6 separate regions of the Homo sapiens genome follow, and all the other regions are linked to region 4. The links are contacts of gene promoters, found by promoter capture Hi-C in blood cells and fetal thymus (Javierre and others, 2016). All regions are on one chromosome and are shown on one strand. The core of a region is centred on a gene start or on the middle of the fragment in contact, and the rest is flanking DNA. Distances in the headings are between cores, read along the strand shown.

Evidence for each region. The method cuts DNA at HindIII sites, captures the fragments that hold promoters and counts their contacts. A CHiCAGO score of 5 or more calls a contact.
Region 1: a fragment that was not itself captured here is called in contact with the fragment with the promoter of TAS2R60 in region 4 in 1 of 17 cell types (neutrophils); the score reaches 6.7 in neutrophils.
Region 2: a contact is called between the fragment with the promoter of TMEM139 here and the fragment with the promoter of TAS2R60 in region 4, in 4 of 17 cell types (monocytes, neutrophils, M2 macrophages and 1 more). The highest score is 6.1, in monocytes.
Region 3: a fragment that was not itself captured here is called in contact with the fragment with the promoter of TAS2R60 in region 4 in 6 of 17 cell types (M0 macrophages, M1 macrophages, non-activated CD4 T cells and 3 more); the score reaches 7.6 in M0 macrophages.
Region 5: a fragment that was not itself captured here is called in contact with the fragment with the promoter of TAS2R60 in region 4 in 4 of 17 cell types (M1 macrophages, M0 macrophages, endothelial precursors and 1 more); the score reaches 10.0 in M1 macrophages.
Region 6: a contact is called between the fragment with the promoter of GSTK1 here and the fragment with the promoter of TAS2R60 in region 4, in 14 of 17 cell types (neutrophils, monocytes, M0 macrophages and 11 more). The highest score is 25.7, in neutrophils.

Annotation. Positions count from the first base shown.
Region 1 is chr7:143,201,379-143,205,573 of GRCh38, forward strand. LOC124901764 (a long non-coding RNA gene) reads right to left here. Exons shown (of 2, transcript XR_007060567.1): 1 at 1,798-4,195; 2 at 678-1,049. Among named protein-coding and RNA genes, the nearest start is that of TAS2R40, 19 kb to the right of the region's middle. The HindIII fragment of the contact is 1,499 bases long and covers 1,933-3,431 here.
Region 2 is chr7:143,281,840-143,286,207 of GRCh38, forward strand. TMEM139 (transmembrane protein 139) reads left to right here and starts at 3,119. Exons shown (of 3, transcript NM_001282876.2): 1 at 3,119-3,606; 2 at 4,102-4,363. The coding sequence starts at 4,119. It overlaps TMEM139-AS1 (TMEM139 antisense RNA 1), which reads right to left. Exons shown (of 3, transcript NR_133932.1): 1 at 4,138-4,368; 2 at 3,879-3,999. RefSeq lists an enhancer at 3,145-4,344. The HindIII fragment of the contact is 11,639 bases long and covers 1-4,368 here.
Region 3 is chr7:143,221,629-143,225,770 of GRCh38, forward strand. TAS2R40 (taste 2 receptor member 40) reads left to right here and starts at 409. Exons shown (of 1, transcript NM_176882.2): 1 at 409-1,451. The coding sequence starts at 451. The coding sequence ends at 1,422. The HindIII fragment of the contact is 1,727 bases long and covers 913-2,639 here.
Region 4 is chr7:143,441,520-143,445,803 of GRCh38, forward strand. TAS2R60 (taste 2 receptor member 60) reads left to right here and starts at 1,934. Exons shown (of 1, transcript NM_177437.1): 1 at 1,934-2,890. The coding sequence starts at 1,934. The coding sequence ends at 2,890. The region is part of intron 2 of EPHA1-AS1 (EPHA1 antisense RNA 1); the gene reads left to right. The HindIII fragment of the contact is 8,585 bases long and covers 1-4,284 here.
Region 5 is chr7:143,242,996-143,247,195 of GRCh38, forward strand. LOC105375546 (a long non-coding RNA gene) reads left to right here. Exons shown (of 3, transcript XR_007060569.1): 2 at 1,122-1,281. Among named protein-coding and RNA genes, the nearest start is that of GSTK1, 18 kb to the right of the region's middle. RefSeq lists a silencer at 3,906-4,082. The HindIII fragment of the contact is 1,078 bases long and covers 1,299-2,376 here.
Region 6 is chr7:143,261,937-143,266,041 of GRCh38, forward strand. It overlaps GSTK1 (glutathione S-transferase kappa 1), which reads left to right and starts at 1,505. Exons shown (of 8, transcript NM_015917.3): 1 at 1,505-1,649; 2 at 2,150-2,231; 3 at 2,612-2,740; 4 at 3,056-3,156; 5 at 3,325-3,360. The coding sequence starts at 1,578. All of the region lies in intron 2 of TMEM139-AS1 (TMEM139 antisense RNA 1), which reads right to left. It overlaps LOC105375546 (a long non-coding RNA gene), which reads left to right. Exons shown (of 3, transcript XR_007060569.1): 3 at 1,212-1,271. RefSeq lists a silencer at 1,323-1,392 and enhancers at 1,420-1,714, 1,533-1,752. The HindIII fragment of the contact is 19,965 bases long and covers 1-4,105 here.

The sequences.
Region 1 (4,195 bases), core at 1,432-3,931, 240 kb before region 4:
AGATCATGCAGTATTTGTCTTTTTGTGCCTGGATTATTTCACTTAAAATAATGTTCTCTAGGTTTACCCATGTTGCCACAAATGATAGTACTACAATTTTTTTTTTTTTTGAGATAGAGTCTCACACTGTTGCCCAGGCTGGAGTGCAGTGGCACAATCTCGGCTCACTGTAACCTCTACCTCCTGGGTTCAAGCAATTCTCCTACCTCAGCCTCCCAAGTAGCTGGGATCACAGGCATGCACCACTACGCCGGGCTAATTTTTGTATTTTTAGTAGAGACAGGGTTTCACCATGTTGGCCAGGCTGGTCTCGAACTCCTGACCTCAGGCAATCTGCCCGCCTTGGCCGCCCAAAGTGCTGGGATTACAGGTGTGAGCCACTGTGCAGGCCGTATTCCAGTTATTTTTTATGTCTAAATAGTATTCCACTGTGTATATATAAAACACATTTTCTTTCTCTATTCACCCATTGGTGAACACATAGGTTGATCCCATATCTTGACTCTTGTAAACAGTGCTGCAATAAACATTGAGAGTTCAGATACCTCTCAGTGATTTCCTTTGGACATATACTCAGTAGTGGGGTTGCTGGATCATATGGCTAGTTCTATTTTTAACTGTTGAGGAATTTCCATACTGTTTTCCATAATGACTTACTAATTTACATTTTCACCTTCTCATTTCTTAATTGTTTATTTTTAATAGCATCCTTCTCTTATTTTATGGAGGCAATATCTTCTGTGCCTCCTCTAAGGACACAAGCTTAAATTTTTTGTCTTCTTTGATCTTTATTTCTTCAGGGGTAATTCACTCTTGGTGTTTAGCTTGGTCTTTCTCTTTCAGGCTGTGGATTTTGTTCCTATTTCTGATCATCCTTGATTAGTAATTCATGAAGGAAAAGGAAAGGCTGTTTTGGGTAAGCAGGTATCATTCTCCAGTAGAACGGTCTCCTGAATGGAAAGGCTGATTGGAAGCTCTCTTTTGTAACTGGGCCACCTTGACAGGCTGGCTCCTCTTTTAGGTATGTGGGTGTGGAATCTGACATTAGCCTGGAAATTCAAAATGCCATAATAAAAAAAGGGTTTAATCTATGTGCAAATATCTGCACTTGAAGCCCTAGTTCTTCCTTGGAAATGTATTCAATTTTTCTAGAAAAGAATTCTCAATATGAAGGTTTTCGATGGTTCTGTATGCAGTGGCAAGGAAGGCACTGGAAAGCATCAATGATGCAGCTATATGGCAGACAGAATTTTAATGATGCCTCTGGTTTTTGCACAATGTCTCGCTCCTGCTATCCAAAGCTAGGAATCCGATAGCCAAGGCCCTCCAGGCTTCTAGCAGCCTGATCAGCCACCACATTCCCAGAGGCCCATGACATGCATATTCTGAGCATCCTTTACTCCACTTCATCTACAATATGCTTTTTCTGATTGTCCACAACCAAGAAATAGGATGAAATCTCCAGTCTGCTCTTGGCCATCCTCATTCCCTTCTCTTTAGTGTTATGATATTTTTTTCTCTATGGAGTCTCAGAAGAAAGGGAAGTAGTGAACACATTATTTAAAAAATCAAATCAAAACCTTATACATACTTTTTTTTTATCATACAAGAACCTCTGGGTCTATTTCAGAAGCTTAATATTTGGTGCCCAAAATATTTTATCCTGGACAATCTTATATTGCACAAATCTTAATTCAGAGTCATAAAAGTCCCCCAAACTGGCTTTTTAAGCTGGTGCATAAACCCCATTGATGATAGTCTTATCCTATTTTTGTTTATGCTCATGTGCTTTCTCACCTGTTAAGAAACTTGCTAATTCTATTATGCGACTCTCTGGCAAAGCTTATCAAAGCTTCAAATTAATTAAGCAGTGGCAGCTCCCAATTTCCTTTTCTTACTGGCAAAAATTTGTTTCACAGAAAATGTTTAGAAAGCTTAAGTTGGTAACAGCTGATTGTTGACCTGGAAATAAGAGGTCTTCATCAATATGTTAAGCGGTCAGGATACTTAAAGAAAAACATCTATGGAGACTTCTTAGCATGCACTCTAGGCAAATACTTGCTGTCCTTCACCATTATTTCAGGATTTTTTTTTCCTAAAAGCATAAGAACAAACACATAAATGATAAAAGCAGAATTTAGGCCAACTCTAGCTTGCCTGCCAAGTAGGTAAGATGCGGTGGCAGAATACTGGCTACACTTGTGCCTGTATCACCATGGAGACCCTACTCTGACCATCAAATAATGGGATTCTAATGAGGAATGCTGCTGAACAACAAGCATGGCTGAGCACAAAGACAGAGCTGCTGGCATTGGAACATGGGAGTGAGCAAGAAAGGGGCAGCCCAAGGGAGAAGAAAAGGTGACACTGAACGTAGGTGTCGTGATGAGAAGAAAATAGGTTGCAGGTGGTGACTGCCTGGAGACCAGCCCAAATCACCTTCCACCTTTACGTGGAATCCAGGCTCAAAGCAGGAGGGACAAACTTGAGTGGGATAAATGTGACATGAAATGAGTCAGTTTGCCCAGAATATGTTTTTACCTATGAGGTGGATTGCATGGGATGGGGGAGGGGGGCTTGTAGGCAGGAGGGGCTGGGTCATGGAAATTAAATGAATTACTTTCCTAATGTGCATTGTTGTTTTTTTTTTTTTTTACACAATTGGTTCACAAAATAAAAAATTAATCCTTACTTTATGTATGAGCTCATCTGGGATTTTGAAATAGCCTCCTGATGCACATCTGTACTTAGACCAATTCTAAATCCTGGACTAGAATTTTGAGTAAAATCATCTCCAGGCAAGAGCCAGGACCAGTGAGAGCTGAGAGGCTCAAGAAGTGATGAGAATAGATTAGATGAACCCTCACTGCTGATATCAGAATTAGAAATGAATTATAACAAGGCTGAGTTTCAAAGAGAAATGCCCAGGATGGGGTCAGGATGCACCTTTCTCTCTCTCCATACAAGCTCTCCCTGAGGGGTCTCCTCTATTCTAAGTGCTCAGGTCCCCTCACAAGCCAATGGCTTCCAAACTTGTGTTTATCTCATCTCTTGCTCTTGATCTCCAGGCCTCTCTACCCACCAACAATCCCTTCTCCTATATATATATTTTTGGGCCCAAATTTTTGCTAAGTGAATTGTTCTGGCTCTAACTATCCTCTCCTTTGCAAATGAGAGGTCTTTCATTCTAAGAATTATCATGGGCCGGCATTTGTAGCTGACATTGAAAATAAACCTCCCCCCTCCCCAGAACTGCCTATAAGATGTGATTTTCTGAAAACCTGCAGGCCTTGGGAATGCAAATCAGAGAAAGATCCAATTGTCACCAACACTTACCAGGGAACACTGCCATTTGCATCTGCACTCCAGATCCCCGGTGGCTGCAAATATATCAGTGGCTCATTCAAACCAGAGCCCAGGCACAGATTGAAAGCTTGAGTGGAGGTGGATTTGGAAAGAGGAATGAAAAGGACACAGCTCTGGAAACTGGGGGGAATGAGCCCGTGTCACTGCCAAGATGGAAGGGTAGGCAGTGCATTCCCACATGTCTGACCCTAAGATTTCAAATTTCATTAGTAGCATCTCCTTTAGCTCAACCTAACTACAAGGAGAACGAGAAATACAAGGAAGTCCCTGCCATGTTTGGGGAGCATTTTTATCTCTGCCCCAGCATCTCCCATTTTCTGCTGAACTAAAAACCTTTCTCTTTCTCAAGATATGTGGAAAAGGAAAAGGAGAAATAAGGAATATCTCTTACTTTAGTCCTTCATTTTTCTAGCTTCCCAACTCTCCAACTCAGACTCTCGCTCTGACCCCCAAGTCAAATATGGCAGGTAGCACTGCCTTCTTTAGGGGTCTTCCAGATTATGCTACCACCACCACCACCACCACCACTCCACTTTTCAGAAACATGTGGGTTTCCACTTGTCAAAAATAAAACAACCCTCTTGATCATTATAGACTTGGGGTCTTGGCTAGAGAACAAATGAAAACAGAATTAAGAACAAAGAGGCGGGGCATGGTGGCTCAAGCCTGTAATCCCAGCACTTTTGGAGGCTGAAGCAGGTGGATCACGAGGTCAGGAGTTCGAGACCAGCCTGGCCAACATGGTGAAACCCCATCTCTACTGAAAATACAAAAATTAGCCAGGCGTGGTAATACTACTACTAATAATAATACTAATAATAACAAAGAA
Region 2 (4,368 bases), core at 1,869-4,368, 160 kb before region 4:
AAATATTGAAGCCACCAAAATCATCTTTAAAAAAAGGCATAGACTTGTCTCCCGGGTGCCCTTCCTTAACTTTGGCAAATCTCCTAAAATAATTGAGACTTGCCTCAGTCATTTTCCTTGATTGACAAAGGTATAATTCATCCTTTTAAAGTGTACAATGCAGTGGGGTTTTTTAAAGAATTATTCAGAGTTGTGCAAGCATCACCATTATATAATTTTAGAAATTTTCACCACCCCAATATGAAACTCATTTGCAGTTACTCTCCATTTCTTCCTCTGCCTCCCCACCCCTAGCAAATTCTAATCTACTTTCTGTCTCTTGTATTATTATTATTATTATTATTATTATTATTATATTAATTTTTGAGACAGGGTCTGGAATGCAGACAGGCTGGAATGCAATGGCATGATCACGGCTCACTGAAGCCTCGACCTCCATGACTCAAGCAATCCACCCACCTCAGCCTCCTGTGTACCTGGAACTATAGGCGTGTGCCGCCACCTCCAGCTAATTTTTGTATTTTTTTGTGGCATGATCACAGCTCACTGCAGCCTCAACCTCCAGGGCTCAAGCGGTCCTCCCACTTCAGCCTCCTGAGTAGCTGGAACTATAGGCGTGCGCCACCATACCCAGCTAATTTTTGTATTTTTTTTTTTTTGGAGAGACATGGTTTCGTCATGTTGCCCAGGCTGGTCTCAAACTCCTGTGCTCAAGCAATCCGCCCACCTCAGCCTCCCAAAGTGTTGGGATTACAGGCATGAGCCACTGCGCCCAGCCTGCATTATTATTATTATTATTTTTTAATTATTTTATTTTTTGAGACAGAGTTTCACTCTTGTTGCCCAGGCTGGAGTGCAATGGCGCAACCTCGGTTCACCACAACCTTCGCCTCCCGGGTCCCAGTTCAAGCAATTCTCCTGCCTCAGCCGCCCGAGTAGCTGGGATTACAGGCACACACCTCCATGCCCAGCTCCTTTTTGTATTTTTAGTAGAGATGGGGTTTCATCATGTTGGCCAGGCTGGTCTCGAACTCCTGACCTCGCGATAGTCCGCCTCGGCCTCCCAAAGTACTGGGATTACAGGCGTGAGCCACCGCGCCCGGCAACCTGCATTATTTTAATGGCCAAAAATATTGAGTGAAATAGGCTCAGTGTTATTGAGCAACGTATCATGAGGGTATATTAATCAAATTATGGCATATCGATTCAATGAAATATTACATGGCTGTTTGAAATTACTACAATAAGGTCTTTATCAGGGTGAAATATATACAATATAAAGTATAAAACTTTTTAAAGATACAAAGTGGTTAGTATATTCTGGTTTGCATGTGGACAGTCTGGAAGAAATATATAAACGTTTTAAATGGCCGTGTTAGGATAATGAGAAGATAGACAATTTTTTTTTCTTTAGCTTTTAAATATTGTCATGTTTTTTCTTTTAACAAATGCAATTTTTAAAAATTGATTTTACATTACTGGAATTGAGAATGTATGAACGGGCACAGCCAGCCACCAGTCTAGCCTCTCCAGTTGGGATCCAGTTCTTGTCTATCGTACTCTCCTTCCGGCAACCAAGAGACTTAAGCTACAAAGGTCCGCCTCTCCCAGACTCTCCCCTTACACCTCAGGCCCATACCTTTTGGCCCCGTGCCTCTTAGCCTACACCTTCCCATTCCCACAACTCACTCCTTAACAAACCCCCTTTCCTATCACACACACCAATGACCCTTGGCCAATTTCCTTCTATTCATATGTTAACTGTAGACTGCAGTCCTGATTCCAGCTGTACTTTCCCCTTATGAGCAGAACAGTGAGGAAATTGGCTGAAACAGAACAACAATCAGCCCCCCTCACTCCTGTGCCTACTTTGCATAGAGACACACCTCATTTAGACTCCCACAGCCTTCCTGTTAATGTCTCCTTCCTCTCTCTGCTATCGATCTGGGGCTCTGGGACAGAGAATCTTCAATATCCCACCAGTGCCCACACTTATTACCACTACAGACACAGTTATTCTCATTCCCATACTCTCTCTCTCTCTCTCTCACACACACACACACACACACACCCTCTCCTATGCTTCCCCACCCCAGCTGTCCCTGGGGAGCCTGGATTGGATTTGTGCCCACGGTCTGCAGCTTCCCTCGGTCTGTCTGCTGGTCACCCTCTGAAGGAACGGGGCCCAGTTTTGTTCACCCTCTGGCTCAAGGACCAAGTATGCTTCTACTCACTCTCTACCTCCAAGCACCTACCCTACTCCGACTTAACTGCCTGACCCACAACTAAAAAGAACAGCTCTTTGATCTTCACAGGTGTGGTGAGGCCTGGTGAGAGGGGAGCCTTCTAGTTAGTGACCTACCACGTTTCAGGAACCATGTTAGTTTCCAGGATTCAGAGATGATTAAAACTAATCACGCACCTTGAGAAACTCACAGTGGAAGGAAAATCAGTAAGCAGAAAAATGCTACATAACCAGGTAAATGCTGGGACAAATTTAGGAAGGAACGATGTGGATACACTGGAGCAGGCTCCAAAGCAGCATCACCTCGGAGGAGGATCTTGAAGACTCAAGAGTTAACTGGGTCAAGAAATATACACACTAACACTTCTGACAGGTCTGCAGAATACAGGGAGTCCATAAAAATAGCACTTGGGTAATGGAAGCAGGACACACCATTCCATGCCCACAGCATTACTTTCTGTGTGCAGTGCACTGTGTGATGATCTACAGAGATTAAATAAGCCGAGGTCTCCGCTTCCAGTCACTTGGGAGAGACGCACAAGGTAAATTACCCAAATAGAAGGCAAACTGCCCAGGGCTGTAATTAACATACAATATGCGCCGAGAGGGAAAGGTTAATGCTAACTCCGGTCCTAAGTACAAAGATCATTGGGAGTCAGGGGTGCACTCTCATTAGGGTACAGCATGGGTGGGTGGAGAGAGTAAAAACCAGAACAAATCAAGGTTCAGCAGTTGGAAGTCAGCCTTAGGGAGAAAAGGGGCGGAGACTGACTGGGCCAGAACAGGGATTGGGACAGAAAAAGAGGGTGGGGCCAGTGGGCTCCACCTACCCGCTCCGGCCCTTCCCACCACCCCCCACCCCATCTACTTTCTACAGTCTGTGGAGACAGGTGAGCGACGAACTTCTGAGACAGGTGTGGGTGCGAGGGTCGGGAGGGTCATGGGATTGGGACCGAGGTGTGAGGAGGGAATCTGCAATTCCTTGCTACACAGAGCGCTGGCAACTTCTGACAGGCTGTTTCTGGGGTATGGGCTGCCTCGGGTTGTTGCTGTTACAAGGAAAGAAAAGAGTTCCCCTGCCCACCGCCTCCCAGCCACTGGGCTACCTCCTGGCAGGAAATTTGCAAACTGAGTTTAACAAGTTAGGATCAGCAGAGGGTAGAGGAGGGCCCTGGCAGATGTGGGGTCTAGAAGAGGACAGGAGTTATCAGGGCCTCCGGCCATTGTGCTGGGCCTTTGCCTGTACAATTGTTTCTCAAGCAGTTGTGTCCCTGTGGCTTTGGTGCGCCTGTGTGCACTTTCTCCCTCCACCTGGAGCATGGGCTAACACCGGAGGAAAGGAAAAGACAGAGTCAGACAGGGTAAGTGGGGCTCCCTCCCCTCTTCTCTCTAACGGGGCTGGATTGAGGGCCTCTGGCTGGGGAGGTGGGGGTGGAGATCCAGTAGGAGCAATAACAGAGGAAGGGCAGGGCCTGCCCCATCACCTGAATTCCAGAGATGCCAGTGTGCACTGAAGCCCCAGGCAGGGCGTGCCCAGGACCGGATCCTGGATGGTGGTAAGGGACAAAGCTGGAAGGGAGACTACAGGGAAGGAGAAAGGAAAGAAGGCAGAGCCATGACACAGTCAACTTACAGAATGGCTGGGAGTCAAAGCTCCTGGGCTGGTTTCCTGGCTATTCCACACACTCCAAGACATAGAGAGAATTTCGGAACTGGAGGGGACTCTACAGATGATTTATTTGAGATTGAAGAACCTAGAAACCAAACAAAGAAATATCATATGGTTACTTTGGTATCTGACACAGCCATGACACCAATTGCTAGTGTAGACACAATAGCTGTGTGTCTTTTTGCAGGAGCCTGGGGAGGGGCCATGGTGCCAATGCACTTACTGGGGAGACTGGAGAAGCCGCTTCTCCTCCTGTGCTGCGCCTCCTTCCTACTGGGGCTGGCTTTGCTGGGCATAAAGACGGACATCACCCCCGTTGCTTATTTCTTTCTCACATTGGGTGGCTTCTTCTTGTTTGCCTATCTCCTGGTCCGGTTTCTGGAATGGGGGCTTCGGTCCCAGCTCCAATCAATGCAGACTGAGAGCCCAGGGCCCTCAGGCAATGCACGGTGAG
Region 3 (4,142 bases), core at 526-3,025, 220 kb before region 4:
CTCCCAAAATAAGAGAGACAAGAAAAGAAGTGGGGAAAACAGATTTTAAAAGCTGTATGAGCTTTTACAAATAATTTAGCAGGTAACAGAGATCTTGTGAGACAAGTAAAAAGGCCTTGTATTCATTGCTTATCAGGTAAATGTGGACTTAAAGTAAATAAGGTAAGAAGGTGTTGAGCTAGAAACATGTCTCAAATTATTTCCAGTGAGCTTCTGAAAGCCCAAGACAAATGTATCTTTATGAAAAATTGAGACAGACCCAGTAACCAGATCCTCTCATTATTTGCATGTGAAGCCTCTAACTTGTAGTCATGTGATAAACAAATGGAGAAAAATTGGAAATAACCATTAATGAGGGCGGCAGAAATTATAACATTGAGCAAGGGTCAGAAGATTGCAGAGCAGTTACCCATTCTTGGCGCAGAAACCTGAAAGTCAGGATCAAAGAGAATGGCAACGGTGAACACAGATGCCACAGATAAAGACATATCCAAGTTCAAGGTCACCTTCACTTTGGTGGTCTCCGGAATAGAGTGCATCACTGGCATCCTTGGGAGTGGCTTCATCACGGCCATCTATGGGGCTGAGTGGGCCAGGGGCAAAACACTCCCCACTGGTGACCGCATTATGTTGATGCTGAGCTTTTCCAGGCTCTTGCTACAGATTTGGATGATGCTGGAGAACATTTTCAGTCTGCTATTCCGAATTGTTTATAACCAAAACTCAGTGTATATCCTCTTCAAAGTCATCACTGTCTTTCTGAACCATTCCAATCTCTGGTTTGCTGCCTGGCTCAAAGTCTTCTATTGTCTTAGAATTGCAAACTTCAATCATCCTTTGTTCTTCCTGATGAAGAGGAAAATCATAGTGCTGATGCCTTGGCTTCTCAGGCTGTCAGTGTTGGTTTCCTTAAGCTTCAGCTTTCCTCTCTCGAGAGATGTCTTCAATGTGTATGTGAATAGCTCCATTCCTATCCCCTCCTCCAACTCCACGGAGAAGAAGTACTTCTCTGAGACCAATATGGTCAACCTGGTATTTTTCTATAACATGGGGATCTTCGTTCCTCTGATCATGTTCATCCTGGCAGCCACCCTGCTGATCCTCTCTCTCAAGAGACACACCCTACACATGGGAAGCAATGCCACAGGGTCCAGGGACCCCAGCATGAAGGCTCACATAGGGGCCATCAAAGCCACCAGCTACTTTCTCATCCTCTACATTTTCAATGCAATTGCTCTATTTCTTTCCACGTCCAACATCTTTGACACTTACAGTTCCTGGAATATTTTGTGCAAGATCATCATGGCTGCCTACCCTGCCGGCCACTCAGTACAACTGATCTTGGGCAACCCTGGGCTGAGAAGAGCCTGGAAGCGGTTTCAGCACCAAGTTCCTCTTTACCTAAAAGGGCAGACTCTGTGACTGGAACTCACGGAGTTCTGCGGGACCTGGTCCAACCACTTCTGCCTTTGCCTCAGGTAGAACTCTCTCCTCACCCGTCTCTTCTCTCCCAAACCTGCTCTGACACTTCTCAGATAACGTGATCCTTTTATAAATATGAAGCTGAATTTTTAACTTGAGATTCTAAACAGAAGTAACTAAGAAACCTGAAGATGGACTTTGAAAGCTCCTTGAACTATGTTCATTCATATCCTGCCCTGAGATCTCTCCACTTTCTTCTCCTCCTGAGCCTTAAGGAGAGGGTGGCCAGACATATCGGTTTGCCAGGGACAATCTCTGTTTATTGTCTGTTGTCAATTGAGCATCCTTTAATTCTCAAGAATATCATGGTCTGGATGAAGAATTACATGATCATCCTACTTAAGACACCCAACTAACACACAGTTAGGGCTGGTGAAGCAGAGCACAGCACTCAGTCCACGGGGTAGAAGGGAAACCAGAGTGGCTACAGAAAAAGAAGATTCAGGAAAGAAAGGCTGCTGGAAATTATCAAGTGCTGCAGAGTTCCGAGGAAAGTAAAGGGTGAAGAAAAAGGCTCTGGATTTGACTAAAAGGATGCCATGTGTGCCATTAGTGGAGTGATAGGGTGACATCCTGATCCCAGGAGTTCCAGAAGATAATGCCAAAAGGGAGGGGATGGGTAAAAACCAATAGTCTAGAGAGGATGTTTGCAGATAAAGATGAGTTATAGAACGGCAGATGGATATGTGAAGGGTCAGTTCAATGCTTTATTTCTCCAAATGGGAGGGGACAAAGTGAGCAGAGAGGAAAGAAAGAATGCAGGGAAAAGAGTGAAGTGGGCAGGAAGCAGAAAGAGAAAAGGAAGAGGCCAGAGTAAGTAAGCGTCTGTTTTGCTCAGCTCCTGACTCTGTGGCAATGCTAGCGGCACCTGTGCCTCTGGTTTTACCAGTTCTGGGTTACCTTGAAGTAAATAGTGGGGCAAGAGCGGGTTACTTGGGGCAGGCTGCTGGAGAAGAGGAAAAACATTATTCTCCATTGTCATTGTTCAGGATGGTTCCAGCAGCATTGTCTCAAAGAGCTGTTCACAAAACATTGGACACCCTCTCCCCAGATATCTTAGAGCTTGAACGTTAGGAATCTGAAGTTGTCTTTTATTAGGTAAGTTTTAAATCATGATTATTGAGGAAAATGAAAAAAGAATGCTGTGGATCATACCAAGCTTAGGTAGCCCCCAAATGAAAATATGAGGTCAGTAGCAAAGTCTAGTTCTGAGCTCCAGCGCTCTCAAGCACACATTTCAGAGAGAGTTCCTTACATCCATAAACTGCAAAAACCACACACACACACGGCATACACACAGACACATGGCATACACACACACACACACACACACACACACACAGATTCCTTTATAGCTCAGACAGCTTGGGACTTATTTACCTGAAAAGTAAAATATTAATAAAACACACATTTTTGATAGTTTTCTTAAGCTATAGTTATTTATATGACTATTTCAGGCGGTATTTGTTATAGTAAGACAAATTAGATATTGAAGTTTTATTCCAGTCCCTAGAATAGAGAAATATACATTTTCTTCCAAGTTATATATATTGATAAAAGGGTCATGTACCCACTAAGGGTTCTCTGATGCATTACAGAGTTAGAGAGAAAATTGATTTAAAGTTGCCATTATATTAACATGAACCATGTCAAGACCACAAAGTGGATAACTCCATACTTACTATGAAGAAATATCATCTCATTGCTAGCAAGAGCCTAAGGCAGCACATAGCTAACAAAAGCTCCAAGGATGATAACATCCTTATCGATGCACATGTTGGCCTGCCTTCAACGAGATAAAATTCTCTCCAATTCTCTTTCTTCTGTATGTAAAACCCAAGTAAGCACTCAGAAAGACCCAGAATACCTAGTCTTCAAGTTGTCTGGCTTTAGACAGCAATCAGAAGTCCTAAATGAAGACAATAATCGACTCTGCTGGACAAAAGTCTGTAACCAAATGCAAAGCCCGGCTTGCTGTGGTCTCAATATTATTACAGGTTTTCACCTTGCAAACTCTACATCATCTCCCTCGCCCCACAGCCCTGCGGGATGTTGAAAGTGATAGAGTGAAGGATTCCTTTACCCACAAAGTCACTCTGAATATTCATCTAGCATGTGGAGCAGGTAAGGGGACTTTGGTTAGCAATGGATTCCAGTCTGGCAGGCCCAGCCCAGAGGCAGGGTATCTGGCTTCTTTCCTCATACCTGGTCGAGTCCTTGCAAATAAAGGCTAGACTGGCAGCCATGGCCAGTCTAAGGGCTATGACTTTATGGGCACCAGATTGTCCCACAATCCAGTATCATCTTCCCCTTCCAACTACTTCGGTGTCTGCTAAAATTCCACTGTGGTTCTGGCTTTTCTTTGCTTTTATTCTACAGGAAATCTGTTATTCTCTCAGGCATTCTTTACTTGGGGCAGCAGGGAAGAAACATCTATGTAATAAAAAGAAAAGAAACTATAAGTCCAACCAGTCTAAAATGTCTTGTGCTGGGGGAGGGGAGCAGAAACCAAGGGCTAACTAATTATGTCTTGTTGGAGACAGGGCAACTTGTGCATTAGGAAAGATCATGGAAGGAAAGAAAAAAAAGACACCGAGAGAGGAAGCCTTCCCATCTGTCTTACGTTTTCTCCCTCTCCTCTGGAGACAAGGAATATATAT
Region 4 (4,284 bases), core at 684-3,183:
AAAACAGCCAAATGTCAGCCAGAAGAACAAGGGCAAGGAAGAGAGCAGTTGGGAACTCTATCTCCTGGAAATTTGCATCTTCACAGAAAGGCAGAGTGAATTACCTTAGTTCATCTTATTTCCTTTACTCCGAAGACCTATGTCCACTATGGTTGGCGTATGTGTTAAAGAAACAATTCCACCTGGAAGTGGACTACTGGGAAGTAGACTGGGAACTGGGAAGAGATGCTGACATGCGTTCTATTCCCTTTTTGTGGGGGTCCTATATATGGAACTGGTAGGTTGTGGTGTCAGCAGATGTGTATTCATTACAAATCCCCTTACTGTCATGTTACTTGATCCTGAGCCTTCAATATTGCTGTATTTGACCCAGAACAATTCCTGCTTTCCTATCTCCCTGTGACACGTTAACCTACTTACACTCACCTGGGTGTTGATTGCTGATTTTTTTGACTCTTTGAAGCTGATTTCTATAAAGAATGTGGTCTTTTTTTTACTCTGTCCTTCTCTGGTTGATATCAGTGGTCTGACATTTGGTGCCCTGAACTTCTGTTGCATCCCTGATGCTCTCCTGAATTCTCCTTATGCTACTTATTATGCCACAGGATGGATGGAATAGAAGATAGCCATTCTAATAAAGTAATTGTCATCATCATCATTGCTCCTTGTCCATATGCAGAGGTTTATAATTTCCAATATATTTACCATATTTATGGTCATATTTATTTGTGACCCATATTTTTTATAGGTGAAGAAAGGGGGGTGTTCAGAGAGGTTAACTGCTTGAGGATCCGTAGTGATTGTGACAAGACTCAAAACTTGGGCTTCTGAGTTCAGCTAGGGATGAAGAAGATGGAGGTGTAACATGTATTGCTAACCATGGCAGAGATTCCTGGTCCTGGAATCAGTTTGGATCTTGGTCTTTCCTCTGTGTAACTGTGACTTTAGGTGGGAGTTGTAATATATAATTTGGGGTCTTATTTCTTTTATCTGTAAGATTATCTTTCATGTCTTCTTTCATTCTAAGCCGAGATTCTAAGACATCTTTGTGAATTAGAACATAGGATACTTTTCATATTTTACAGATGGACAAAATGAGGCGCAGAGGGGCTGACATATCCAGCAACTCACAGTAAGGGGTAAAGTTTGGACTAAAGGCTGTCTCGACTCCTAGCACAGGGCTCATTCTGCCATATCCCATTGGCTTATCGCTACTGGGGGTTCCTCTGTGAAGTGCTATTTTAGAGGCCACCAGTTATCAAATATATATTTTTAAATTTTGAAAAAAGTTGCCTGCCTCATTATGTATAATTGTCTCCAGTGTTCTTTTTTTATGATGATGGTCACTGTGAGTAATAAGACTTGAATTAATCCTTCTCTGTAAAGGTTTGCTCAGTTTTCTCTCTGTCTCAGTTAAAGGGGTCTTGCCATACTACTCCCCGCATAGAGTTGTTGTGAGAACTAAGGAGAGCACTCAGAACAATGCCTGCAACATAACAATCACCCCCCCCCCGTGGATGTGAGCGCTGTCTCAGTAGCGGGTGTGCCCCACGGATGATACTACTGAGCTGGCAGGTGCATGGTCCTGTCATAGGTGTCCGCTTAGAGAAGTATAACCTCCTGTGTAAGGACACTAAATGCCAGGGCCTGATATATTATCCACTTTGATGTTGACATGGGCAGAGAATAGGCAGAAGAGCAGGCAAATTTTTGGGCAGGTATGGGGACTTTGAAAATTGAGCCTTGACAATATTTGCATCTACTCTGAGAAGAAAAAACCTCTCACCCTCCTCTGATAGCCTGCGTCCTCTACTCTGGCCTAGCTTCTGCGCTTGGGGCAGCTGGAGGGACAAACATATCCTACAGGACCTTCCAGAGCAACCCAACAGAGATAGCCCTTGAAGTTTTGGGACCCATCTTGTCCACCAGAGAGATGAATGGAGACCACATGGTTCTAGGATCTTCGGTGACTGACAAGAAGGCCATCATCTTGGTTACCATTTTACTCCTTTTACGCCTGGTAGCAATAGCAGGCAATGGCTTCATCACTGCTGCTCTGGGCGTGGAGTGGGTGCTACGGAGAATGTTGTTGCCTTGTGATAAGTTATTGGTTAGCCTAGGGGCCTCTCGCTTCTGTCTGCAGTCAGTGGTAATGGGTAAGACCATTTATGTTTTCTTGCATCCGATGGCCTTCCCATACAACCCTGTACTGCAGTTTCTAGCTTTCCAGTGGGACTTCCTGAATGCTGCCACCTTATGGTCCTCTACCTGGCTCAGTGTCTTCTATTGTGTGAAAATTGCTACCTTCACCCACCCTGTCTTCTTCTGGCTAAAGCACAAGTTGTCTGGGTGGCTACCATGGATGCTCTTCAGCTCTGTAGGGCTCTCCAGCTTCACCACCATTCTATTTTTCATAGGCAACCACAGAATGTATCAGAACTATTTAAGGAACCATCTACAACCTTGGAATGTCACTGGCGATAGCATACGGAGCTACTGTGAGAAATTCTATCTCTTCCCTCTAAAAATGATTACTTGGACAATGCCCACTGCTGTCTTTTTCATTTGCATGATTTTGCTCATCACATCTCTGGGAAGACACAGGAAGAAGGCTCTCCTTACAACCTCAGGATTCCGAGAGCCCAGTGTGCAGGCACACATAAAGGCTCTGCTGGCTCTCCTCTCTTTTGCCATGCTCTTCATCTCATATTTCCTGTCACTGGTGTTCAGTGCTGCAGGTATTTTTCCACCTCTGGACTTTAAATTCTGGGTGTGGGAGTCAGTGATTTATCTGTGTGCAGCAGTTCACCCCATCATTCTGCTCTTCAGCAACTGCAGGCTGAGAGCTGTGCTGAAGAGTCGTCGTTCCTCAAGGTGTGGGACACCTTGAGCCACAGCTGATGAAAAACTTCAAGGAGATTCTTGTGGAGAAGGCATGGACTCAAAGGGACATAGCTTCTCTCTTTGCCACATTGAATGTTTTCTCTCTGTTGCTACAGTTAATGATTAGAAAAATAACTTCAATGAAATAGGATACAAGGTGAGAGTAAAGGTCCTGAAATATGGGCTAGTGTCATGTTATGTACTCACCAAGTGCATAGTTCATGTGGCCATGGTTCCTGTGGGACCTGATGTGGTCAAAGAATCCAGAAGCCTTTATTTTTCCTGTGATCGATCTCTTCGTATTTAAAATAATCATTCTGGGAACTGGATGCAAAGATCCTCAAACTTCATGCAATATTTTATCTGTTCAATCGAACTGGGGCATGTTTTTGGAACTGCAGTTTTCTCAGGCTTTGTCCTGTGAACCACCTTTCCCTTCTCATCAATTCAAAGTTTTCTGGCCATCTAATGTGGTGCCTCTCTCCTTCTTTCCATGGAAGAGTTTCTGGTGTCTAAACCTTCTACACAGAGCATAGTGTAATTGGTGCATGTGTGTGGCAGTGTGTGTTGCCAGGGATGTGTGTATTCTCCGATGACCTTTGGAGATCCCTCTGAGTGCCAGGGGTCTATGATTTGTATGTGGTTCATGTTCTCTATAATAGCCCAGCCTGTTAGTCTCCTCTGTATTTGTTAAGGTCTGTGGGTTCAGATGTAACTTCTTTTGATTGATATTGGGACCTATTGTAATTCCCCTACTGACATGGGGAAGTTTATCTGTATCTGTCTAAGACCTAAGATTTAAGAAGAAAAAGCCTTTGTGTTTGGTGAACCATGTTCAGACTGCCTTTCTGCTTTTCCCAGCTCCTCTCAAACGTTCTTTAAGTTCAGTTACTCCCTGAATCATTCAAACGAGACAACCCTCAAGTTTCCTCCATTCACTTTAAAATCTCTCCGCCTCCTTTCCTGGTTTTTACCTCCACCACACTCTACATTAGAGGACTGGTCTCTGTTTTTGGCTTTTCAAGGCTGACATCTGTGATCCTAGCCCTGCTCCTGCCTGTTTTCTCTCTGCTGCTAGGTCAAGGATTTCTACTTCTACACAAATCTTCCAACTTTCCCTCTTTATTGTCCTTCCCTTCTTCAACAAATGTGCCTCTAAACTTTTTTCCTGAAAACAATCCCCTTATCTGTCTCGCTCCTCCCCCTCCCTGTACCCCTGTGCTGCCAATGAGTCACTTGCAGGGTCTTCCCGTGTGCCTTCCAATCCTCTCCTGCTTCCCTGTTCTGCTGAAACATGTTTGTTTCTACAGGGACACACACGATCTCTTTGTCACTAAATGTGATATTGTCCCCAGCCCTTATCCTCCCATGTCTCTGTTGTATTTGCCTCTGTTGATAACA
Region 5 (4,200 bases), core at 588-3,087, 200 kb before region 4:
TGCCTGTAATCCCAGCTACTCAGGAGAGTAGAAGGCAGGAGAATTGCTTAAACCCGGGAGACAGAGGTTGCAGTGAGCTGCGATCACGCCATTGTACTCCAGCCTGGACGACAGAGTGAGACTCCATCCAAAAGCAAAAAAAAAAAAAAAAAACGAAGGAGGGACTTCGTGTACAATAGTGAGCTATAAATTAAAGTTGATGATTAACTCAAGTCTCTCCGAATCCGAGGTTAAAAACACACACATGCGTTTTCCTCCCTGCAGAAACAGAGCATGGTGGAGGATACTGATGACTTCAACGTAATATGGTAAGGTCCATGATAAGAGAAAACACAGATGGCATGAGAATATAAAAGTGGAACACTTAGCCTGGAAGCTCACAAAGGAATTAGGGAGAATAGGAGTCTTGGCAGGCAGTATGGTTTAGGGCTTAAGATTTGGAAGCTGGGTTAAGATCGCAGTTCTGCCTTTTACTAGTTTACATGATTTTTGGCAAGTTACATTCCCAGAATAATAGCACCTAGATAGAAAATATCCAGGCCCTAAGAATGTATTACCAGAACTCAAAGACCCCAGAGGAATCTTGCTGTCGCCTTAAGTATGCTTGAGTCTTTGCTCTAGGTAGTTCCTATCTCTTCAAGAACAATCCTTCCTGCATATCATCAATCATGTGTATGTTAACCTAAAAGCCCCACAGTGCCTCTCCTTACTAGTTTGCTCCGAACATGTTAGACAGTGGGCTGCCTCATTCTTTTGTAATCCTTGGCAAAGTGAAGATGCAGAGAGTGTTGTGATCACATCAAATCTTGAGAGCAGTAGTAGGTGATTGCTGTGGTGACCTTTAACATCAGAAAGAAGCAATTGCCAGCCAGAGGTGAAGGGTCCTCTGAGCAATTGGCTCGGGAGCTCCTGACAGGCAGCCCATGCATTGTCACTGACACGTGCTTTGTAGCCTACCAGCTGCTGTATTAAAAAGAAATCCACCAGCCACACAGACTAAGTCAGTAGCTAGAATGTTATTTTGAAGGTAGTTATTGGTCCAGGAAAGAGGACTTTGTCACTGGAGAGTTTAAAAATCTCATTTTCAAAACACTCCCTAGGTTTGTTCATGTTTCTCACAGAAAGGACGTGAAAATGAAAATACTTGAGTGGCCTGAGATTTGCCTAGGGAATCATCTTAGAAGCAAAGAAGGAAAAGAACATCACGGAAATTCCCGCAGGCATAATTCCATGGACAGAACTAGACAACGTATTCTCTAGCAGTTTTGAAACCAAGATCAGGTAAGGGAAAGAAGGCAAGCTTTATTTATTTATTATCTTTTTTTGAAACTGATGACAGTTTAAACAAAGGAAGTAGCCATCAAAGTTTAGTGTTAAGGTCACAGAGGTTCGTGGTGAATGGCATAAGTTCAATTCCTACTGCCACCATTCACAGGCTTTATGACACTGTAGAAGTTTCACCTTCAATAAAAGGGAAATGATGATGATAGTATCTACCTAAATAGCCACTTTGAAGAACAGTTTGTCCATTTCTTAAAAAGTTAAACATAGACTTACCATTAGACCTAGTAATTCCACTCCTAGGTATCTATCCAAAAGAACACACATGTCTATGCCAAGACTTGAATGCAAATATTTACAGCAGCACTATTCATAATGGACAACAACCTGAAACAATCCAAATGACCATCAACAATGTGTTACATCCATACAATGGAATACTATTCAGCAATAAAATGTTTAAAACTATAAATACATGCTACAGCATAGATGAACTTCAAGAACATTATGCTAAGTAGAAAAAAGTCAGATGCAAAAAAAAAAACTACGTATTGCATGATTCCATTTATATGAAATTTCCAGAAAGGACAAATCTATAAAGACAAAAAGAAGATCCGTGGTTTCTTAGGGGGTGGGAGTGGGATTGAGTGCAGGTTCTCAACCAGGATTGACTACAAAGTAGCAAGCACCAAAGAAAAAAAGAAAAGACTTTGAGATGATGAAAACATTCTAAGGCTGAATTGTAGTGATGGTTGCACAACTGTATAAATATACTAAAAACTATTGAATGGTACACTTACAATGGGTGATCTTTATGGCAAATATATCAAGTTGCTAAAAAATGGTACTTACCTTGTAGGGTTGTTAAAAGGATTAAATTAGTTAATATTTATAAAGTACTTAGAAGAGTGACTGATGTAGTAAGCTACATGTGTGTTTGCCAAACAATAAAAATAAATGTGGCTGTGTGATTCATCGCAAGAGTAAATTACTAACAGTTCCTGTATGTTTTTCTACACCAACAGGAAGCAATTCTGAGTACTTAGGCAATGAAATTACTTCTTTTCTATAAAATACGTTTTTAAGATCACACTAAGCTTGAGGTTATTCCAGGAGAGATTGTAAATCTTGTCACATGACTTTGCCTTGCCTCTACCTGCCGTAGCTCCAGCCTCATCTCTCACCATTGCCCTCCTTCAAATCCTTCAGCTAAAGAGAATTTCTCTCAGTTCCTCAAGACTCCAGACAATGGGCTTTTCCATAATGTTGCTGGCTCTGTATGGAATATCTATCTGCTCTTCCTCTCTGCTATTGGCTGAATGTGTGTGTCCCCACAAAACTCATAGGTTAGAATCCTAACCCCCAAGGTGATGGTATTAGGAAGTGGGGGCTTTGGAAAATGATTAGGTCATGAGGGTGGAGCCCTCATAAATCGGGTGGGTGGCCTTATGAAAGGGACCCAGAGAGTTCCCTGTCCTTTCTACCACATGAGGACACAGGGAGGAGATGGCCATTTGTGAGCCAGAAAGTGAGCCCTCATCAGACACCATATCTGCCAGCTCCTTGATCTTGGACTTCCCAGCCTCCAGACCTACCAGAAATAAATGTCTGCTGTTTATAAGCTATGCAGTCTATTGTATTCTATAATTGCAACCCTGACTACAGTGCTATCCACGGTCTACTTACTTCCTACCTACAGTTCAAGTCTTCATTTAGGGTTACTTCCTCTGAGAAGCATTCCCTGATTCTTTCTCAACATCCTTAACACTCCTTCCCTCAACACACACACACACACGCACACACAAAACACACTTTGTATTGAATTTGCCAATTGATGTTTTGCCTTTTGACTCCCACATCAGATGGAGTGCTTATAACCCCAAGCACTCAGAACAGTGCATGAGGCAGAGGAGACACTCAATAGACACCAGTGCAGGTTTGCAACCAGGGTGATTTTGATGCCACCAGGAAACACTTGGCAATTTTGTCACCTTAAAAGTTCCCTCATGCCAATGTTCAGTCAATCCCCACTCTCACTGCCAGCCTTAGGAGAAACCACTGATTTGCTTCCTGTCTATTCTGAAAATGTTATGCAAATGAAATTGTATAACACATAGTACTTTGCATCCATCTTCTTTCATTTAGCATAATATTTGGTGGTCACACCTGGGCACCTAGTGGCATCCAGTGGGTAGAGGCCAGAAATGTTACAAAAACATTTTTACAATAAACACAACAGCCCCCACAACCAATAATTATCCATTCCAATGTGTCAATATGCTGAGGTTAAGAAATCCTGCACTAGTGAAATGAATAAACGTGTGAATTAATGAACAAATGAATCCTCTTTTCTGACATGAATTTAAGGATTGTTCTCACTATCCTTTCAAATTCTTTTAAAAAAAGAAGAGTCTCTGAAAATATTTCCATATCCCTTCCCTTCCCACATTTCAACTTTGTTTCTCTAACAACTGTGTTTTCAAAGAACGGCTCAGAATGGGAGAAATACCAGGATTATTGCACTGGGGACACCGATGTTCTGCACAGGCTCCCTTAGACATAAACCCAAGCAGGTGAGGTGCTGCCAGCAGCCTTCAGCTGTCAGCCCTGAGCTGAAGAGTCACCTCAGCCAAGGTCAGGGCCCCTTCCCAGGGCAGCGCATAACCTGAGACTAGCTCATAAGGGGATGTAAAGTCCCAGCCAACTCACCGGAACTCAGTACAATCTCAGAATTCCTTGTAGAACTGACAGGGTCCTTTGCTGAGACAGCATCACAGCACCACAGCCAACCTTTCCCTCTGCCTGACTCTCTCATTTTCTTCCCTTCTCTTCCCATCCCATCACTTCCTCTCCACAGGTGTTGATCATAAAATCAATCCCTGATAAAGCTCCTCCACTGTAATCTTCAGGAGGCTGCCT
Region 6 (4,105 bases), core at 255-2,754, 180 kb before region 4:
TGTACTCTGAGAACTTCTTATTCTGCCCCAGTTTAGGAGATTCATGCAACTGCCAAGCAACAATAATAAGAGCTAGCAGTTATTGGAGTACCTCATTCCTCACAACTCGTCATAAGGCAGGTGTTATCATTAGATATTCCCCATGTGTATGCAGGATGAGGAAATAGGTTCAGAGAGGTCAAGTGGCTCACCCAAGGGGCACAGCTAAGTGAAAGGCACTGCAGGCATCTCAAACTACCCCCTTCCCACAAGACTCCACTGCAGAGCAGGACAGTCACCCTGACACCAGCCCAATGGGTTCATCTTGCCCATTACCCAGATGGGGCTAATTTATCAAGACAAGGGAATTGCAATAGAGAAAGAGTTTAATACACATAGAGCCAGCTAAACAGGAGACCAGAGTTTTATTATTACTCAAATTAGCCTCCCAAAATTCGGAGGCAGAGGCTAGGGGACTTTGTGGGTTTTTTTGTTTTTGTTTTTGTTTTTCTTTTGAGAGGGAGTCTTGCTATGTCACCCAGGCTGGAGTGCAGTGGCATGATCTCGGCTCACTGCAACCTCTGCCTCCCGGATTCAAGCAATTCTCCTGACTCAGCCCCCCGAGTAACTGGGATTACAGGCACATGCCACCATGCCCGGCTAATTTTTGCATTTTTAGTAGAGACAGGGTTTCACCATGTGGGCCAGAGTGGTCTTGAACTCCTGACCTCAAGTGATCCACCCACCTCAGCCTCCCAAAGTGCTGGGATTACAGGCGTGAGCCACCATGCCCGCCGGCTAGAGTTTTTTAATGATAGTTTGATGGGCAAGGGGCTAGAGAATGGGTGCTGCTAATTGGTTGGGGATGCAATCACAGGGGTGTGGAAAACCGTCCTCAGTGCACCGAGTTGCATTTGGATGCGGGCCACAGAGGAGTCACTGGTCCAGGTGGAGTCATCCTGTCATTAGAAATGGAAAAGTCTGAGAAGGTATCTTCAAAGGCCAGTCTTAGGTTCTACAAAAGTGGTTATTTACAGGAATAATTGGGGAAGTTGCAGAGCTTGTGACCTCTGGAACAATGTCTGGTAATTGTTAATGCCTACATCTTAGCAGAATTCAGGCCCCTCTCATAATCCTAAACTTGTGGACTTTTATTAGTTTTATAAAACTGGTTTAGTTTGGGGAAGGGCTATTATCATTTAAACTATAAACTAAATTTCTCCCTATATTAGCTCGTCCCATGCTCAGGAATGACCAAGGGCAGTTTGGAGGTTAAAGGCACGATGGAGTTGGTGAGTTCAGATCTGTTTCACCTTCGTAATTTTCTCACTGTTAAAATTTTTGCAAAGGCGATTGCAGCGCCCCTTGTCCACACCTGCGCGCTCCCCAAGGGGTCCCTACCCACCCCGCCCCTGGCTGGGGGCCGTAGGCTGGCCCTGCCCCGCTGCGCCGGAGGTGGACCTCTACCAGGGCAGTTTCTCTCTGAGGCTGCGCGCTAAGGCGGTGGGCGGTCCCAGGCAGGCCCAGAAGCTGGGCAGCCTCTGCCGGGTTCCGGGAAAAGGAGCTCCTGCTGCCACTGCTCTTCCGGAGCCTGCAGCATGGGGCCCCTGCCGCGCACCGTGGAGCTCTTCTATGACGTGCTGTCCCCCTACTCCTGGCTGGGCTTCGAGGTGACGCTGGGAGGGGTCGCCTCGGCAGTGTCTGGGGAGTGAGGGCGGAGGGAAGAGTGAGCGCAGGGCTCCGGGACAGAGGTCTCGTGTAACTCCTGGCGCCGCCCAAGGGGTTAAGGCAAGCAGGGAGAGCTCCGGGGCTGAAGGTCACTTTGTGCTTTTAAACGGAATAGAGTCGCTGGCTCCAACCCGAGCCTTTATATCCCGACTGCAGTTTCCCACGGTGGTGGAAAGAGGGGCGGCTCCAAACATTCAGGGAGAAATGCAGAACACGGCCACCTCTTAGCCCAACGATGGCAGTTTTGGGGAAAACTGGCCACAGGAGCGAAGATCCTGGAATAGATTTCTAGTAGTGAGGAGAGTTTTGCCAATTTCAAACCAAACAATGTAGGGTGTCCGCATAACCCCTGCTCTGCACTTAGCGCCTCCCTTCCCTTTCCCTCGGCTCTTTCACTTTTCCATCTTGCACACTGGCAATCGTTCTTGACCTCTGCCCGCAGATCCTGTGCCGGTATCAGAATATCTGGAACATCAACCTGCAGTTGCGGCCCAGCCTCATAACAGGGATCATGAAAGACAGTGGTAGGAAGGGAGGGTCGGGGCAGGGGTGATCTCAGTGGCCCAAGAGAGCCGACCCCAGCGGGTCCTTATATTGGCACTGGCAGCCAGAAAGCTGCCCTCTGCCCCGTCTCTACTAAAAATACAAAATTAGCCGGGCGTGGTAGTGCATGCCTGTATACCACAGCTACTCGGGAGGCTGAGGCGGGAGAATCGCTTGAACCCAGGAGGCGGAGGTTGCGGTGAGCTGAGATCGCACCATTGCACTCCAGCCTGGGCAACAAGAGCGAAACAACAAGAGAAAAAAAAGGAAGCTGCCCTCTGCCCAAAACCCACGTCGAGGTCCCCAAACCTGGGACCCTTAGGTCTTTTCTCACTTAGCGTGCCCAACCTTCTCCTGGCAGGAAACAAGCCTCCAGGTCTGCTTCCCCGCAAAGGACTATACATGGCAAATGACTTAAAGCTCCTGAGACACCATCTCCAGATTCCCATCCACTTCCCCAAGGATTTCTTGTCTGTGATGCTTGAAAAAGGTGAAGAGAGTGGGATGTAGACAGGGTATCCAGTGAAAAACACAGAAGTCGGAGATTGAGGGATTGATAGGATGGAGGGGCTGCGGGAGACTAAAGCAAGTGAAGCCTGCCTTGGGAAACCTCAGGATCAGCCTTGAGCGAGCTGAAGGTTGCCGGGCATGAAAGGGAAGAAGAGCAGGCAAATAGGTCATGGGAACCTTGGGTGAGAGGCTGAGGGCGGAGGAGCTCTGGGGGATGTCAGAAGCAAGGAAGAGCTAGTCCTCCACCAGGAAAGCAGCAAGAGGAGCCCTGCCTCTGGGTGCCTCTGCCCCACAGGAAGTTTGTCTGCCATGCGTTTCCTCACCGCCGTGAACTTGGAGCATCCAGAGATGCTGGAGAAAGCGTCCCGGGAGCTGTGGATGCGCGTCTGGTCAAGGGTGAGTGTGGGGCTCTGGGAATCCTCTGGGAGGACCTTGGATGACTTTCTGACCTTCCCCAGGCACGTTTTCAGGGTCATGATCCTGCCCCCGCCCGGGGGATCTACTGTCCTCCCAGTCACACCCCTCTCCCCGCACCGCCTTCCTGCTGTCTTCTCTTCTTCCCAGAATGAAGACATCACCGAGCCGCAGAGCATCCTGGCGGTGAGTGTCCTGGCTCCACCCCAACTGCACTCATAGAGAATCTGAGAACAGTTGGCGTTTGGGGGTAAAGAAGACAATAGGTCTCTTATTGCATGGAAAAGGTTATAATTACTGGGGAAGAAAGGATGTCTGTGATTCAGGGCACAAACTACTGAAAAGTTGGAACTAAGGATCCTCAAAAGGATATCTCAAGGTTGAAAGGGGAAGTGCAAAAGGGACAATATATGGGAAGAATTTATTTGCTGAAAGATGTCAGTGAGAGAAAGATGCTCAGTGTTGGAACCCCTGGATGGGGAGGGATATAGTATTCACAAGTCTCCACAAACTCCAACACAAACCTCACCAACACATCCAGAGTGGAAGGCAGGAGACTTGTTCCAAGAGGCTTTAAAAAGACGAAAAGAGATAACTAATGCCAGGGTTATATAGGAGCCTGAGTGAGAACAAATGGAAATAGCTCAAAACATTGACCAGTGAGCCATGGATGGGGGTATAAAAGTAAGTTTGTCTTCAGGATTAAATTAGGAAATTCAAAACAGTATTATTCCTCTGGTTTACAAAAAAAAATAGTTGAGACCTATTCAAATTTAATATATAAAGTGGCAAATCACACAAAAGTTAAACGTATAAGGAATGGCAAATATATCTTCTACAGTCTATACTCCTGCAAAGTACATGTGTAATTTTTAGCTTGCTTTTTTACTTCATATTTAATCATTTTCCATGCTTTTTTTTTTTTTTTTTT